Linked DNA regions of Homo sapiens: all the other regions are linked to region 1. Evidence: promoter capture Hi-C in 16 types of primary human blood cells and fetal thymus (Javierre and others, 2016). All regions are on one chromosome and are shown on one strand. The core of a region is centred on a gene start or on the middle of the fragment in contact, and the rest is flanking DNA. Distances in the headings are between cores, read along the strand shown.

The links. The method cuts DNA at HindIII sites, captures the fragments that hold promoters and counts their contacts. A CHiCAGO score of 5 or more calls a contact.
Region 2: a fragment that was not itself captured here is called in contact with the fragment with the promoter of BMPR1B in region 1 in 1 of 17 cell types (fetal thymus); the score reaches 7.8 in fetal thymus.
Region 3: a fragment that was not itself captured here is called in contact with the fragment with the promoter of BMPR1B in region 1 in 1 of 17 cell types (fetal thymus); the score reaches 5.6 in fetal thymus.

What each region holds. Positions count from the first base shown.
Region 1 is chr4:94,756,648-94,759,261 of GRCh38, forward strand. BMPR1B (bone morphogenetic protein receptor type 1B) reads left to right here and starts at 1,308. Exons shown (of 13, transcript NM_001203.3): 1 at 1,308-1,421. It overlaps BMPR1B-DT (BMPR1B divergent transcript), which reads right to left and starts at 886. Exons shown (of 3, transcript NR_121610.1): 1 at 747-886. The HindIII fragment of the contact is 4,388 bases long and covers 1-2,614 here.
Region 2 is chr4:95,074,682-95,077,295 of GRCh38, forward strand. All of the region lies in intron 3 of BMPR1B (bone morphogenetic protein receptor type 1B), which reads left to right. Among named protein-coding and RNA genes, the nearest start is that of BMPR1B, 320 kb to the left of the region's middle. The HindIII fragment of the contact is 9,640 bases long and covers 1-2,614 here.
Region 3 is chr4:95,055,315-95,057,928 of GRCh38, forward strand. The region is part of intron 3 of BMPR1B (bone morphogenetic protein receptor type 1B); the gene reads left to right. Among named protein-coding and RNA genes, the nearest start is that of BMPR1B, 300 kb to the left of the region's middle. The HindIII fragment of the contact is 915 bases long and covers 826-1,740 here.

The DNA.
Region 1 (2,614 bases), core at 58-2,557:
CACCGCCTGCTTTAAGTGCAAGCTGCATAAAATAAATTGATACACAAATGAATTTTTTATTGATAAGTGCAAAAAGATTACATTTAATGTTTAAAAAAGATTTAATAGAAACAATTTAAGAAAAGGGAGTAGTTGAAAGAAAATAGTAGGCTAAGAATTGAATATAGAAATAGATATGAAGAAAATTGGAAGAAAGTTACTTCAGGGTGAAAAACTGTTAAAAAAAAAAATGACTTAGATCACACACTTGGTGGTGACCAGAGACTGTTTGTCAATATTTTGGAGGAAAAAAATTTTACAGAAGGAGAAAATAAGTAATGCTGGAGAGTGGGAAGCTGAAAGGTATTGAAAGGAAAAGAGTATTTGGAAGTCACGAGATATCTCCCTGGGAAATAGAGTTGGCAAAATGGCTGATTTTAAAGAGGTTAACTATTCTCCCCAAATTTCTGACTGTGAACTAGCTTACTTTATATTTACCCACTTAGAAAGTGTTTCAACACTTAAAGACTTAGCAAGGAGACCACAAAGTATAAGACGTTACATACTTTTCCAAAAGAAACACGACTAACTGTAAACTGTCATCAAATACAAATGGAATGGGTTTTCTCTTTTGGGTTTTATTTTTTTATTTTTAATTTTTTGGTGGTTGTTTTCGTTTAACGGTTTCAAAAAATATGTAGAAGGGAAATATTTCATTTCCCTTGGACGCTCAACTGTATATATTTCAAGATTCTTAAAACCCCCACCTCAAACTGCAGGCTTAATTTTAATGTGTTCATTTTTTACAAGGTGTGTCAACGTTTTATCAATTTCTGAAAAGTGTCTATGGCCCCGAAAAGTTGAAATCCACGACATTATATCATCTCTGCGAGCCCTTTCCAGCTCTCAAGGTACAATAATTCCACGAATCTTTGTTCTTCAAACCAGGAGGTTTTCTGGAAACCTTCTTAAACAACCAGGACAGGACCCATGAGGGAAATCTTGGGGATGCTCTGAGCAGCGGACGGGGCTTGGGAAGCGCACCCCTGTACCCGGGCTGCCTCCGGCCCGCACCCCGCCGCTCCCCAAGTCGGCTCCGCACTCCGCACACAGGCGGCGGCGCTGGGGCCGCTCCAAGTGCGTTGAGAAGTGTAATCCCTCCGCTAAGTACTTGGCTCTCAGTCTCCAATCACTAGTGGGAGCTGGAGAGGGCAAGTGAAAAAAAAAAATTCCAGAGGCAGCCGAGGAGCGAGAGGGAAAAAAAAAAAAAAAAAAAAAAAAAGTCCCGCGGTGGCGGCGGCGGCGGCGGCGGAGCGGCCGCGGCGGCCAGAAGTTGACGGCGCAGCCGGGCGCGGGGCGCGGAGTCGGCGGGGCCTCGCGGGACGCCGGGCAGTGCGGAGACCGCGGCGCTGAGGACGCGGGAGCCGGGAGCGCAGCCGCGGGTAAGGCGCGCGCGGCGGGGCCCCGTCCCCTGCGGGTGGCCGAGTTCCCGAGCGCGCGGGAGGCGGCCGAGCCGGCGAGAGCCGGGCAGAGCGAGGGGCGGCGCGGGACGGGTAGCGGCTGGGTGCGGAGCTGGGCGGCGGTCGCCCTAGGCAGGACGGAGCGCGCGAGGGAGAGGGCGAGAGCGAGGGCGGGCTGCGCGGCCGTGGGGCGGTGGCGGCGGCGGGGAGGGGGTCAGGCGGTGGCCGCCTCGGCTTTGTGCGCGGGCGGCTCTGCCGGGACCCCGAGGCCTCGTGCCTGCGCAGGCGAGGAGTCGGGGCAGCGGCGGCGGCGGGCGGGACACGTGCTTCGGGCTGTAGGGACGCCCCAAGGCAGGGAGTCGGACCTGCGAGCGGAGGGATGGGGCGGGAGGGCGAGCTGAGGGCAGTCGCGGAATCCGGGAAATGGGAGGGAGCCCGGCGGGGCGGGGGCCCAGGGCCAGCCCAGGCGGGACCCGCAGGCACCCACCTGCCCCGGACGCCTCCCGAGACCCAGCCTTGCCGTGGGGGAAAGTGCGCAGCGGGCTGGTCCCGGCGCCTTGGACTGGGCTCCGTCTCTGCTTCAGTTGCCTGTCTCTTCTCCTCTCTCTCCTGCTTCTCTCTCTCTATGCCTCTCTCTCAAGTTCTGGGTCTTTCATTCTCTCCCTTTTCTTCCTTTCTCCCTTCCTCTCCTTATTGCTATCCTTTGCCTCTCCCCCCGGTCTCTCTTTCCTTCCGTGCGTCTGTCTCCCTCTCCCCACCGCCTGCTCTGGCTCTCCCAGTGTGTCCCTCCTCTGTCCCTTCATCCTCTTCCCTCTGTCACTTTCGCACAATCTTTTGGTCTCTCTCTCTCTCTCAAGAGGCTTTCGCTCCCGGTCTTCCTGGCTCCCCTGTCTCTTGCTCTCTGCGCCCATCTCTCTGCTCGTCCCTCTTTCTGTCCAGGCTCCGTGTTTCCGCCTGTGTTTGGCGGTGTTGGAGAAGAGCCTCTGGAAGTTGTCCGCTGTGGTGCGGGTCTTACTTCTTTAGAGCTGCACCCCTCCAGCTGGGTCCTGCTGTTTGTTCTGAATGGAAACGCTGCAGTTCCCTTGAGTTATTAGAAACTGCTCTTTTCTTAGCCACCTTTCCAGCAAGGTGAGGTCAGTGACTACGAGCGGCCACAAAGGTGCCAGTGAAAGACA
Region 2 (2,614 bases), core at 33-2,532, 320 kb after region 1:
TTTATGAATGAAAAATTGCTAAAGTAAACAAAGTACTGTGAAGCTAGAGTAGTTATGCTGTTTTTGCTGCTACTCTAGGTAAATTACTGTTATTTAGTAATGGAAATTAAAAAAAAACCTGGACCTGAGTTTGGTAATGGAAATTTAAAAATACCTGGACCTGAAATCAGATAGAAAAGTCAGAAAAGTTACATGCCTGCTCATGATTATTTTAAATATGAAATAGAGGTATGTTTTGGGATGAGCAAAGAAGTAAAGCATCCATCTGCATATTTCTTTTTTTCATGAGGCTTAACATTTGCAGAAGTAGGCACTGACCTGGAAACCAAAAATTTGTAGTCTTGTTGATAAATGTATTCCTCTAAAGAACATCCCACTTACTCTTAAGTAATTTACCATCCTGCTTTACACACTGTAGGTCTTAAGATTAAATGTGTCTTTCTAAAGTGCTGATAGCTGTTATTTAACTCAAACCTTATCTTTAAGACAAGCCTCATAAATTTAATAATAATTAGGCATAGTTTCCACTGGAATTTTTACTGTTTTCACCATCTGTTCTTCTCAGAGTCTGTATAAAAGGTATTGGATCTGTTTCACAGTAACTTAGTAAATATTCACTTCTAATAATTATTTTCTATTGGAAAGTGACTGCTATACTTATGATTTTTAGGCAGTTAATAGTGAATCTATTGTTGGTCTGTTTTTTAGATGCATGATAGCGGTACTTTATTTTCACATGTTGTATGTAGACGATATATTAATAGTATTAGTAGTATGATGCTAATGAAAGAATATAATCCTGTATCATTTAATAGCCATTGTGTACTTGAGTGTTTATGCCCAGTTTTGATTGTTGTTTAATTTGCCTTTATAATTCTTACCCATATAGTCCTCAGTTTGGAGTAGAAAGACTTTGTAGAACACAGTCAATTATTTCCATGTTTCCAAGTAGGCACTCAGATACAGTGGTACTAGTTGGCCTGCCTTTTGGTTTATATTACCGTAAGGCTTCTGTCTCTCATATTTTTTGAGAGAATTTTCATATTCTGTCTCTCATACTTTATAGAACACAGTCAGTTATTTCCATGTTTCCAAGTAGGCACTCAGATACAGTGGTACTAGTTGGCCTGCCTTTTGGTTTATATTACTGTAAGGCTTCTGTCCATAGCTTTCTTTCCCCTTCCATCCAGCCACTCTCACAAGCCTGATGTCCATTCTTTTTTTTTCTAGTTGGGCTGAAGGATCAGACTTGTTAATTTGTCTAGTGCAAAGAGAGAAAGAAGAGAAGACCCAGGCATTGAACTATGAATATCCTGTAACTATAAAACAAGGCATATTTTTGTGTAAATACTAAAATGTACAGAAGACATTCAAAAATAGTTTCTAAATTGTATGCAGAAATGGAAGTGTTCAGTGAATAGGCTTATTTCTTCCCAAGAGTCCTAACTTGACTTACAACCCTCATTTCACTGTATGTGTAGTAAAATTTTAGGATGAACTGATGCTTTGATGGGAGGGATGAGCTTAATTTGTACTCTGCAGGAATCCATTCCAACTTTATTAGTATTATACTTGAGATTGGTCTTATGCTATAGTTAGCTTGTCTTTTTTAGTTCATTATAATAATGTATGTATTTGCTAATGTAAAACTACTATGAAAAGTTATAATCTAGTCTTTAAAAATACTTTATACTTAGAAATTTAAATGTCTTTCTTCAAAAATTTGCAAGACTGAAAATCAGAGTTGGATGCATATGTGAGCCAGTTAACATCAAACAATGAAGTTTTTGAAGATTGTAGCTAATAGTAGTATATAAATTGCTCACACTTATATGAGGCAAACTGTTCTAGGTACTAAAAGCATTTTACATATATAAGTATTATTATCATCTTCATTTTACAGATGAGGAAATGAAAGTTCATGGAGGTTAAGTAAATTGTCTGAGGTCACACAGCTAATTATCCAAGTAATCAGTGGAGTGACTCATATGTAAATAAATTATGCTACTTGGAATAAGAGGGAGGTAGTTGGTAGGCCAGAACATGTGTGTGCAACTAAGGTAGAGTAAAATATATAACACAGTAAAGTTCTGTGGAAACGTTAAAAAAGAAACACAATCAGAATTATAAGCAAAAACATGGGAATACAAAAACATGGTACATCTAATTAGAATAAGGTATGGATAGGGAGCAGACTATAGTAGAAGATGAAGCTGGAATGGAAGATTGAATCAGTTCATGAAGAACATTGAATGCCTTCCTAAGAACCTTAGAACTGTTAGAGATTTTTATTTGCTTTACTTTATTCGCTTTACAAGCATATGCACGTGTGTTGTCTTTAGAAGGCAGCAGTGCAAACACTAGATGATAGAAATGGGAAGGAGATCAGAGAGTATTACAGTAACATTGGTTAGGGACAGGTATAACGGTAGGAGAAAGGAAAGACTCCAGCCAATAGCTTGTATTTTGTAGTAATGGAACACGGAAGACATAGGAAAACCTATCCTTCCTACTGGGAAAAAGAGAAATCAAATGTACATACACCGGCTGATGGTGATGTAGTATTATTACTATTATGGAGTGATTTGGTAAAACAGTAATGTGCAGTAGTGAG
Region 3 (2,614 bases), core at 33-2,532, 300 kb after region 1:
GAATCCAGTAAGAGGAGGATAACAAACATGGCTGTGAATAGGTAGTTTCACAATTAGAATGATAATATTGCTATGCGGCATCAGTTTTTGGTAATATTTTAAGTGAAAAATGATCCTTATTACCATATGGCAAAATATACTGAAAATCTGAACTGTTAGACCAACACAGCTGTTAAATGCATAAATGTGGTTATGTGTTTAAAATGTTTTCTACTACAGCTATTTTGTGGCATTTCTTAATCTCAGGCTATTAATCGGCAGTAACTGCAAGTTGTGGTGAGCATCACAGATGTAAGAAATTTGATCTCTGGTAATTTACCTGGGAAGAAAATGGCTAAACTATAGTTTTCAACTTAAGTTCTGCTCATTAGATTGGATAGTAATTTCACGTAATTGCCAAGTACAGACTGAAATTATTTGGTTTCACCTTTTTTTATTATTTTCAAAATGCTAGCAACCGTATGCAAGTCTTATCTGTGTATAAATGTCTGTACATAGTATAATTCAAACTTGTAAATTACAAATATATGAAGGCTTTTGAAAAAACATTGGAACAGCAAAATAACTCAAATTAGTTTCTTTTTTCTCTGTAAGCCAACTGAATCTGAAATAACATTGGACAGATATTTTATTGATTTAGAACATTGTACAAATCTTTTATTGATTTAGAATTGCCAGGAATAAATCTATGAATTCTTCCCCCAACTTTTCAAATGCATATCTATTTTTAGAATTCATATAAGAATTTGAACAAATCCTCAAATAAGAGAAAATATTGACAACTAATTATAGAACAATTATCTTAATCAGCTAAGTTTTCTGTGAAGCTTTCTTATGCTGCATTTTAGGTCCAGATGGCCTCTTTTGGTCTTGATTATTATACTTGTTATCTGTAAAATAGAGACTTTGTCTATATTAATATATATTTGTTGGTTTGGAAAAGTGAATAGTAAAATACATAAGGATGATCTTGTGACTTTGCACTCTATTTTTACTCTAGACCTCTCCATGTTTCTTTTAACTTGGAAAATATCTTTCCGGATTAACTGATTACTCTGCTTGATACTATCTCTGTTACATTCTTTTGATGATTAGTTAACTATATAAAATCATAGTATTGATATTTTGGTTATAAAGAACAGAATCTTAAGTAGAGAAAGAAGTTTAATGGAGACATAAAGAAAAACTAAAGGAAACACAGGCCTCATGGGACCCAGCAGGCCAGGAGGACCGGAACATCTCCTTGTCTATGTCTGTCTCTCTCTGAGGGCCTTGTGCACGTTCCACTCTCGCTGTGTGCGTCTGCTCCCTTCTTTTCTTTTTGTTTAAAATTCTTTAATGGACGCTCCTTGTATTTAGGATAAAATCCAGATCTTTCTGTGTCCTGCAAAGGTCTGATATCAGCTGGCTCCTGACTCATCTTGCAGCTCATCTCACTGCTTACTGAGCATCAGCCATATAGGCCTGAAAACAAACAAAACAAAACAAAACAAGACAAAAATGATCCAACCTTTTTCTCACTCAGGTACTTCACATATACTGTTTTCACAGTCTGGAAAGTTCTTTGCCTTTCTACTCTGTTTATCCATGCATTTGCATAAGTGCCATTTAGTTAAGTTTTCCTTAACAATCTAAATTAAATGAAACCCCTTTGATATAATCCCTCATTGTGTTTTATTTTTCCTTTATGGTACATATCATAATTTATCATTATACATGTCACTCTCCTGCTGGAAGCTAAGCTTCTCAGAAGAACAAACTCTGTCCATTTTATTTATTGTTGTGTCTTGAGTGTATAGCACAGGCTTGGTGTATAGAGGAATCTATGTCCCTGGACATACTTATAGTTTCTTGCTTGACTCAAAATGGTGGCTGCAGTCCCTAATGTTCCAAGACCATTTTGCTTAGCTCTGCAGAGTTAACTGACAGATGTTTCACTTTTTTTTTTTGAGACAGAATCTCACTCTGTCACCAGGCTGGAGTGCAGTGGTGTGATCTTGGCTCACTGCAACCTCCGCCTCCCGAGTTCAAGTGATTCTCCTGCCTCAGCCTCCCGAGTCGCTGGGACTACAGGCACACGCCACCACGCCCAGCTATTTTTGTTGTATTTTTAGTAGAGACGGGGTTTCACCATGTTGGCCAGGTTGGTCTCAATCTCTTGATCTTGTGATCCACCCGCCTTGGCCTCCCAAAGTGCTGCACTTTTATTTTTAATTTCTTTGGAGGGAGAATTTGATTGGCTGCGGACCCTTAGAATAATCAAAGGTAACCTACTAGCCATGTTAAAGGTTTTTGATTGCCAGTGTAATCCAAACCCTTTTCTAGAAAAACTGCACCTGCTCACAGTGTCTATTATTGTCTGGTTTTTCTAGAAGAGGGTTTGGATTATATTGACAATCAAAAACCTTTAACATGGCTACTCTTGTCACTTATGATAGCAATATAAATACTTCCAGGACTCTTTTGTTTGTAGTGAATTGATATTGGCTAGCAAATGAGTTATTTATCAACTAAATGTTTTGAAAATTATTTTAAAAAACACTTTAATATTTCTCACTTGAACTTCAGAATTCAGCAAATGTTACTACCGAAAATAATGATGATGTATTTCTAT